Linked DNA regions of Homo sapiens: region 2 is linked to region 1. Evidence: promoter capture Hi-C in 16 types of primary human blood cells and fetal thymus (Javierre and others, 2016). All regions are on one chromosome and are shown on one strand. Each heading gives the region's core, a stretch centred on a gene start or on the middle of the fragment in contact. The rest is flanking DNA. Distances are from core to core; before and after follow the strand shown. Region 1 holds the start of MAGI3 (membrane associated guanylate kinase, WW and PDZ domain containing 3). Region 2 holds the start of SIKE1 (suppressor of IKBKE 1).

Evidence for each region. The method cuts DNA at HindIII sites, captures the fragments that hold promoters and counts their contacts. A CHiCAGO score of 5 or more calls a contact.
Region 2: the fragment with the promoter of SIKE1 here is called in contact with the fragment with the promoter of MAGI3 in region 1 in 1 of 17 cell types (total B cells); the score reaches 5.5 in total B cells.

Annotation. Positions count from the first base shown.
Region 1 is chr1:113,388,226-113,393,237 of GRCh38, forward strand. MAGI3 (membrane associated guanylate kinase, WW and PDZ domain containing 3) reads left to right here and starts at 2,290. Exons shown (of 21, transcript NM_001142782.2): 1 at 2,290-3,124. The coding sequence starts at 2,809. RefSeq lists silencers at 622-866, 1,856-1,905, 1,936-2,295, 2,706-2,835, 2,896-3,055 and enhancers at 2,736-3,235, 3,286-3,335. The HindIII fragment of the contact is 2,966 bases long and covers 818-3,783 here.
Region 2 is chr1:114,778,481-114,782,966 of GRCh38, forward strand. SIKE1 (suppressor of IKBKE 1) reads right to left here and starts at 2,205. Exons shown (of 5, transcript NM_025073.3): 1 at 1,969-2,205; 2 at 1,630-1,735; 3 at 662-804. The coding sequence starts at 2,127. RefSeq lists enhancers at 1,391-1,957, 1,958-2,523, 1,988-2,227, 2,468-2,587. The HindIII fragment of the contact is 3,666 bases long and covers 1-3,328 here.

The DNA of each region.
Region 1 (5,012 bases), core at 1,040-3,539:
TTGCAATTAAGAGGTGACAAACCTGGAGACAAAAGCTCACATGCATGTGATGGCAGAGAGCAAACACAAAAAAGAGCTTGGGTCCTTGATGACATGATTGTACTGCTCAACTAACCCTGAAACTATCTGCACTTGAAATTTATATTGAAGATATAGTAAATGACCTCATGCTTTAAGCTACTGCCAAATATTCTGTTCCTTGAGGCCAAAGGCATTCTAACAGATGCAATCTAGACACAGAAAGATGTTTTCCCAGAGTTCCTGCAAAAACAGATGATGTGTAGGTTATGGAGATTTTATCCAGGAATCCATTAGTATAGGTAGTAGTTTAGAAAAAAAATACTCCAAGCTTTGTCTCAGATATGGTTAAATCTGAGCCATCCACATGGTGTCTGTGCTGAATATTTTCCCCTCAGATGCACTGTTTCCTTTTCTGAAACTGACTGATATGAACTATATCAAAAGCCTCCCTTGCCCTCTGGCGTCTGGTTGGACTTGGCCATTGACAAGCACCAGCAGGAGACTGGAGGAGGGTGGTGAGTTAGATATAAATCCCCCAGGTCCTTTGCTGGGTGTTTACTTAGGCTGACTGCATCCGTTGACTGAAGGTCACAGACTCCTGTCAGGTGGCCCTGTGTGTCTGGATTTTTCGGTAACTGTTCTTTCCCGATTGGACAGATCTAGGAGCTGTAGCCTCAGGGTTCCAGCTTCTCTTGTGGTTTCCCACACCCTGCCCACATCTTTGCAAAATGCCATTTGTTTCCTGCCAGGACCCTGACTGATACAATGGTGTCAACGAAATCACTGCAGCTATTGAAGCTTGGTCCAGTCTATCTGAGGTGTGGAGTTTTATAAGGGCTTTCACCTACTATTAAAGGGAGACAGGAGACTACACAAATAAATGTCATGCTGCAAAAGTGAAACAAAGATCATAGCTCAGAGAAAACACTTTCCACTTGAGGGCAAGAAATCAGAGAAAGCTACCTGGAAGAGCCGGCATTTGGGATGAGGACGGATAGGAGTTTTAAAAGAGATGAGATGAAGGGCATTCCAAAGACAGGGAAGAGTGTAAGTCAAGCCGGGGAAGAGAGAAAGCTCAAGTGAAATTTCTGAAAAATTAGAGCTGGAAGGGATCTACGATATCTTTTATTTAATGTTCGTTCTCCCTTCACCTCCTTTAACTGAGATTTGGCCAAGGTCAAACAGCAAGTAAGTAGCATGTCAGGACTCCAACCAGATCTGCTGGCTACCAGGTTAGTTCTTAATAATCCACCTTCTACCTCCACCCCACTCCCTCACCTCAGGCAGTCTGCTTACTTCTCAGTCTCTCCCACTAGACTGTAACCTCCTCAATAGCGGGGCTTCTGTTTTCTTCACCCTTGAATCCCAGTACCTAGCACAATATCTAACACAAAATCGTCATCGTCATCAGCAGCAGCAGCAGCAGCTACCAAACTTTAAGAGGCAACCACCCACTGTCAGGCACTATGCAGTTATTTTGTACATCTTCTGTAATCTTCACTTTTCACTGAGGACGCTGCGGCTCAGAGAGGTTGTCTAATTTGTCTTAGGTCATACAGCAGTGCCGGACTCTATTTTATAATATCTTTCATCAACCGGACTCCGAAGCCCTGCCTCAATGGGCGTTCAGTAACATCTGTTGAATGAACGAATGAACAAGCAATATCCACTCAATGCAAACTATCGGCTGTAACAGGCCACCCTAAAGGCCCCGGAACCTCGGCCGGCTCAGGACTCCGCACGTTGTCTTCCAATCTAAGCACACCGGCCCCTCTCTGCGCCCCGCACAGGCTCAGAGGCTCCGCCCGCGTCTCCGCCTAACTCGCCGGCCACGCCCCCACTTCGGGGAGCTCGGTCCCTCTCGGATTCGAGTTTTCCTCGGCTCCAGCCGCCGCGCAGAGGGCCTCTCCCGGCCCTGCGACCTACAGCCCCTTCCACTCCCCTGCCCCTCCTCTGCGCCCTCCCTCACTCTCCAAACTTCTTTTTTCCACCCTCTCTAAACTTCAGTCATTCTAGTGCCCGCCTCCTCCACTCGCACCGACCAACCAGTGGTCCCCATTCTCGTTGGCGGTCCGCCTCCTGCCCGCCGGGGGCCAATCCCTGGCGCGAGAGTCCAGGGCCGGGGCTCGTTCCCAAGCGCCCAGCCTGTGACGGCAGCGCGCCGGGCGCCGCGCGGCGGGAGGGGGCGGGGCTCTGGATGAGGGATGGGCGAGGGCCGGGGGAAGGGAAAAGGGAGGAGGAGGAGGTTGCGGCTGGTTTGAAAGCGGCAGTTTCCTGGCAGCTTGGGCAGGCGTTGGTCTCCGCGCTACAGCTCCGCAGCGGCCACGATCGATCCCGCGACGGGTCTACGCGCGCTTCTGCGCGCCCCCCACGGATTTTTCCCGTTCCCGGCTCTTCCCCCTTCACCTCCCCGCCCCCCCGCCTCAGCCTTTCCCGCCGCTCGGGCGCTGAGCCCAGGGACCAGCCGGCGGCAGTGACCCCGCCCGAAGCCCCTTCTGGAACCTCCTGGGGACAATTCCCTTTTCCTTTCTTCAGCCTAACCCGCGGTGGCCCTCGCGGAGTCCGGTCAGCCCCGGGGAGCGCAGCCGGGAGGGGCGTCCAAGGGGCGTCTCGCGTCTGGGAACGGCCGGGCCCCCAGCGGGCTGTGGTCGCGGGGTGGGGGCCGGAGCGGCGAGGCCCCCCTTACCGGGCTGCGCGGGCCGCCCAGGGCCCCCGGGCTGAGACGGGGCCGGAGCGGCGCCCCGGCCGCCCGCGCGGGGTCTCCCCCATGGTGCAGCGGGGTTCGGGATGTCGAAGACGCTGAAGAAGAAGAAGCACTGGCTCAGCAAGGTGCAGGAGTGCGCCGTGTCCTGGGCCGGGCCCCCGGGCGACTTCGGCGCGGAGATCCGCGGTGGCGCGGAGCGTGGCGAGTTCCCCTACCTGGGGCGGCTCCGCGAGGAGCCCGGCGGGGGCACCTGCTGCGTCGTCTCGGGCAAGGCGCCCAGCCCAGGCGATGTGCTGCTGGAGGTAAACGGGACGCCTGTCAGCGGGCTCACCAACCGGGACACCCTGGCTGTCATCCGCCACTTCCGCGAGCCCATCCGTCTCAAGACTGTGAAACCAGGTACGCCGGCCCTGCGTATCTGTCTCGGGGTGTTGGGGAGAGGGGCTTCAGGGTGGGCGTCCTGGGAGCGGCGGCACCTCCCCACCGCGTATTGTCCCGGGTAATCTTAGACCTCTAGGGTGTGCCAGACTCCTTGACGAGGGGGAGGGGTGGCGTTGGTGAGTCCCATTTTGCCGAAGGGAAAACTGAGCTCTGGCTTGGCGCGGTTGCTCTGCTAGCTGTGCTAGCTGTCACAGAATTGCGACTAGAAGCTGGGTTTCCTACATTTGTAGCTCCATCTCCCCCCGCAGACAAGAGTTTTTGACTAGAGAAGGCCAGCCTTTTCCTGTGTTGTGCAAAAAGGCCCTTAGGATTGTAACATTTTCTTTGGAACGATCTTACGCATCTTCTAACAGGGAAAAAGGGACTTTACTATAGAGGCACTTGGTGCCAAGGTTACCACCTGGTGTACCTGGAAGGGCTTAGCTGCTTCAGTGTTTCTTGCACTCTAGCAGACATCTCAGAGCTGACAGCCTAACTCTGTCAGTCCAGGTGGTTCAGGTGTCTGAGTACCGATGACGGTACAATATGTGATATGTGGCAGACTGGTGTGTTCTTGCAGGGAGCTGTTGAATAGAGTCTGGGTTTTGCAGGAAGACCTAGGTGCCTAGCGGAGTGAAAGCTTCTGTAACGCTTTTGATTTTACAGAATTTTGTTGAAGTGGTAGGTTAAAGGAGCCTCTGTTGCCCTGGTATCTTTTATGCTAGTAAAAATTGCTGCAAAGCACGTTATGTTTATGGCATACTCGTCAGTTTCAAAGCATTGATCAGAGACAGCATACAGTGAGATCTGATAGTATGTAGTAGTTCTTATGAATTTGTTATAGACAGCATTGTTGGTTTTGTTTCAGCATAGATAGAATGTGGTTCTGTCGTCTTAGATGTTTGTGGGAGAGAGAATTGTGATTGTAACATTATTAGAAACCAAACTGTTTTTCCTTAATGTGCTCTGCTGAGTATACGGTGCATCAAAATATAATGGGCTGGTTAATTGTTACCTGGGCTAGGTAGCAGTCCATCCCTTGATGGCAAAATGCTAGAAAATTCTGGATAAAAATTTAATATGTTATCTCCTTCTCATTTCTTTCTCAGCAGCTCGCTTTGGAAATATTAATATATCTTTAATAGTCCTTGAGCTTAATGGGGCTTGATGGTTTGTGGTGCAGTTTACATATGTCTGTGTATTGTGGATATGTATACACACAGACTCACATGCTCCTAAGGTCATAATTAAGATTTTCTTTCTATAGCGTATTCCATCGTATTCATTTTAAGTGTATGGGTTTATGTGGTGAGGTTTTCTTTTTATTGTTGTTAATTTTTTAAAACTTTGGCAGACTTTAAACAGCTTTTTCTGTATAGTTTTGAGAATTTGTAAATTTTTTTCTTAACTCTAACTTTTACAGCCATGTGTGAAAGGCAGAGGAAAGACTTTTGGGGCTGTAATTCAGCTAGTCAGGCACTGTCTGTAATATGCAAAAGGCTATATAGACAGCATTTACTAGTCTAGCTGCCAAATCTTAGTTCAAATCCCATGAGTTAGTGAATAGTGAGAACATCTGCATCATTTCTTTGTGTTTTGTTTTGATTCGTTAGGGCATAGATGAGAATATAACTTATTTTTAGAAATTTTAAAGTTGATATATTGACATGGAAGCTGGTGTATTCTAAATTATTGTGATCTTTTTTAGAAGACTGAAGAGATGGCTATTTCATAACATTAGTCTAATCTACCTGTTATACATTTTTCTCAACCTCTATATTATATTTAACAATAATTCAAGATTTAGAGCATTAGTAATATTAACTGTGTTGAATAAACATCCTATGCCCCCGTATGTAGTTGACAT
Region 2 (4,486 bases), core at 955-3,454, 1.4 Mb after region 1:
AATAACCAACCAAGTGTTTACCAGGCAGCTTCAACACTAACTGGCATTATGTTTGGTGGGAGCGCTAAGAATTAATGAACATTTTCAAAAGAGATCTTGGTGAGGGAGGGGGAACCTTAGTCCCACTCAAATAAAAGGATCTGAGCAGCCCCTATCCTCCTTCTTTCTATTCATATCTTTACAAAGCCATGGCAAAATAAACAACAAATGTGATAAACATGAAAGGAAAATGAGCTTACTTTTCTTCAAAAACAAGCACACATGGCCAGGCGCAGTGGTTCATGCCTATAATCCCAGCACTTTGGAAGGCTAACGTGGGTGGATCGCTTGAGCCCAGGAGTTTCAGACCAGCCTGGGCAACATGGCGAAATGTCATCTCTACCAAAAAACAAACAAACAAACAAACAAACAAACAACCCCACAAAAATTAACAGGGCGTGGTGGTGTGCACCTGTAGTCCCAGCTGCTCCGGAGGCAGAGGTGAGACGATGGCTTGAGCCCAGGAGGCAGAGGTTGCAGTGAGCCGAGATCGTGCCATTACACCACGGCCTGGTCGACAAGAGCCAGACCCTATCTCACAAAGCAAAAAAACAAGCACACAATCTAAAACAATCTCAAGATTTCAATTTGGTTCATTTCGAATTTATTCAAAGTTTCTTACTGCAGAGTGAGACTGGTGAGCTTTCAGGACTGGTTCAGCATCCACCGCTTTTTTAGCAACCATTAACTGTAACATCTGTTTCCGATATTTGCTCATGATAAGTTCCAAAGCATCCTGGTGTTCCTCCAAGGAAATCCATAGCTCTGTCAAAAAATAAAAGAACTTGGCAGTGATGTCTGAGAGACAGTTCCCAAATCCAAAGTCTTAACAGTTGGAATTTTGTAACACTATATAGATAATATGAATCTAAAGTTGTAAATCAATGTTTAAGTCCGCAAAACTGAACAGTTAAAGTCTATGTGAAAGGTAACTTTCTAGGCAGAGAAGCAAAGTCTTGCAGAAACAACAATGGATGTATCATCAGAAGACATGTGTTTGAGTTCAGTTCTGTAACTTGCTTGGTTAATACTCATAAGTAAATCATTTAGCTTCTTCTGAGCCTATTTCTTAACTGCATTGTGGTAGATAAAAATGAAGATATGAGAATACAGTAGAATGATATATGTGAAACCCCTCTGGTAAACAACTATTAATACCACAATCATTAATAATGTACTAATCAAGCCTAAGAATATATACCCTTAGAATAAAATTCTGCTGCTTCACCTTGCACAAACAAGAACATAAACAAAACCTTAAATCTTACCTTCAGTGTTTATATTAATACTTAAACATTAAATTTTAAGTCCATGAGGCTATGAACTCTTTTGTTACACATCTGAGGATGCTTAAAAATAAACCATGCAATAATACCAACTCTACACAGCACCTCTTTGGTAAGCTGCTGCAATATTAGTCAGATGACCTTGAAAAGGGTAATCTAACAAACTTTATTGTTACTGGGCCAGATCAGGAGGACTCTCCTACTAAAAGTACTGACCTGGAAATATATGTACACTTTTGTAAATGTTTAGGGCAATTTTGCAATAACTTTAAACTATTACCAGATATGAAAAGGCCTGACTAACCTCTGTTTTCCTGTTGCAAGTCTCTAATCTGTGTGTTCTCTTGGGACAGCAGAATGTGAGGTTTGTATTTGGACATGTCCTTCATATCGGATGCATCCTCTTGATACTGGACAAATAGAGACAGACTAAGCATGCCTTAAAGAGAACAGCGGCAGATGCAACTGAAGAGGCAGAAGTTAGGGCTCCAGGGCAGGATTCTCAGCCCCGACCCAGGAAAATGGTCTCACCGCCGCCCTCTGAGACCGGGAATAAATTCCAGGCCGAGTTCCCACTTTACCTCGCTCTCCACCCTTCAGTGCCCAGAATCCGAGAGCACTGGACTCCTACCCTCTGCCTGACCTGGTCCGGAAGCGCTGTCCCCGCCTCCCGCATAGCTGCTACCCGCCGGTGCAGCGCCGCCGACTGATCCACCAGCGACTCGGCGGCCGCATCGTGCTCCCGTAGCCTCTCCAGCAGCGTCTTGGCGTCTGTCAGGATCTTCTCGATGGTGCAGCTCATAGCAGCAGCACCACCCCAGCCCCTGCCGGGCTCAGCTACGCGACTCGCTCAGATCTTCTGGGAGTCTGTCTCAGCATTACAGGCGTCATTTCCGGGCACGTTTACAAGGTGTCTTGGTAGGCGCAATGGGCGCCTGCGCAGTGGCAGCCTATTTTGCGGGTTGACCCGCTTTAACCTGCGGCTTCCTTGCAGTCCTTCCTTGCGCGGAGCCCCAGACCTACACTTGCCACGCCGTTGGTTTCCAGTTACCACAGCCTGGTGGTCAGGCTATGATTAGCTGGGCAGTGGGAAGGTCTCCTTTCCCTACTGGTTTTCATTGATGTGGGTTGTTCTTCAGTCACAGTTAGTTTCTTTTTATTTTCATTATTTTTTTCTTTTTTGAGACGGAATCTTGCTCTTGTCCAGGCTGGAGTGCAGTGGCGCGATCTTGGCTCATTGCAACCTCTGCCTCCAGGGTTCAAGCGATTCTCCTGCCTCAGCCTCTCGAGTAGCTGGGATTACAGGCATGCGCCACCACGCCGGCTGATTTTTCTATTTTTAGTAGAAACGGGGTTTCACATGTTGGCCAGGCCGGTTTCGAACTCCTGACCTCAAGTGATCCGCCCGCCTCGGCCTCCCAAAGTGCTGGGATTACAGGTGTGAGCCCCCGCGCCTGGCCTACTTTCATTTAATTTTTTTTAAATTGTGGCAAAATACACATAAAATTTAATATCTCAGCCATTTATAAGTGTACAGTTCAGTTGTACATTCATATTGTTATACAGCCACCATCAGCATCCATCTCTAGAACTCTTTCATCTTGCAGTACTGAAGTTCTGTACTCATTAAACAATAATTCCTCATTCTTCCTTATCCCCAGCTCCTGGCAGCCACCATTCTACTTTGTGTCTCTACAAATCTGACTATTCTGGGTACCTGACATGAGTGAAATCATACAGCATTTGTATTTATATAACTGCCTTATTTCACTTAGTGTAATGTCCACGAGTTTCATCCATATAGTAGCATATGTTAGAATTTCCTTCCTTTTTAAGGCTGAATAATATATATATACCACGTTTTGTTTATCCATTCATCCGTGGATGGACAGTTGGGTTGCTTCCACCTTTTGCTATTGTCAATAATGCTGCTATTGCAACTGGCTCACGTCTGGCTGCTTGCTGCCTAGAGGCCAAAAACATGAGAAGTGACCTGTGGTGAAAGCTTTACTAATCAAATGCTCGCAGATGGGGAATGGCTAGGCTCATGCCTTCAAAACAGCATTCCACTTTTTTTTTTTTTTTGGTCAAGGTATCCCAGAGACAGTATCAGTGTCCAAACTTTAATTTTGTCCCATATCAATGCCAGGGTGGTGTGCTACCTGCCCTGAGTCCATCATGTCCCTCCTGCGGCCAACTGACTTAGAGTCAAAAGAGTTACAGCCAATTAAACGTTCTAGGTCAGATGGGAAGGAGGTGGGCAGGCACTCATTAACCTTAAAACCCCTCTTAAGCAATGTTAAGAGGCAAAAACCAAAAGGCAAGGGTTACAAAATTGACTTATCTATAAATTCTATGCATTGAGCTGCTGTAATCTTGGCTTGTTGCAATTAGCTATACAAAATGCAAGCATTTTGTTTAGCTGTTTTGGCATCTGTGTCATCCTTGATTTGTAGGGTCTGAACTAATTTTAGCTCTCAATACTGGCCCTTACAACATTACGTTATAGTCTCTAGGCATGGCGGGATTGAAGAGTTTCAACTTTTGTAGGTAAAACAAAACAGAAAGAATTAACAACATTTCAAACACAAAGGTCATAAACCCTGCCTAGTTTTGAGAATAACAGGAAAAGAAGTTCATAGGTAGCTAAACACTTAAATTATTTAGTATCAAGGCACAGAATAAATTATATTAATTCAGATAGAGGCAGAATTGTTAAATGAATCTTAATATTTTTGAACACAAGACTGTCCCTGTGTCTCATGAAAGCAGTTTACTTTGTCGCCTTTGCCTGAGTCTAACGATGAGGCTTTGGTTAATTGCAGTTTAGTGTCAGATACTGGCAGGAGTTGATGCCTTCTTTGGATGAGATATGTGTAAGTCCCTATAACTTAAAAGCACAAGGATTAGTTAATATCACCTGATAAGGACCTTTTCAAGGAGCTGGAGGTGTGATACCGGAGTCTATGACCTGACTGGAAGCTGTAAAAATATTTTACAACCTTGCAGTGATTAATTTTTATAGCTTCGATAAACCCCAGCAATAAGTCAGAGACTTAATTTACGATTTTGATTTTGAGGACATTGGTCAAAGATTTTAAAAGCCTCAAAACATTTGATCAAAACAAGATAATATTCATTGTAAAAATAATAGTTACTCA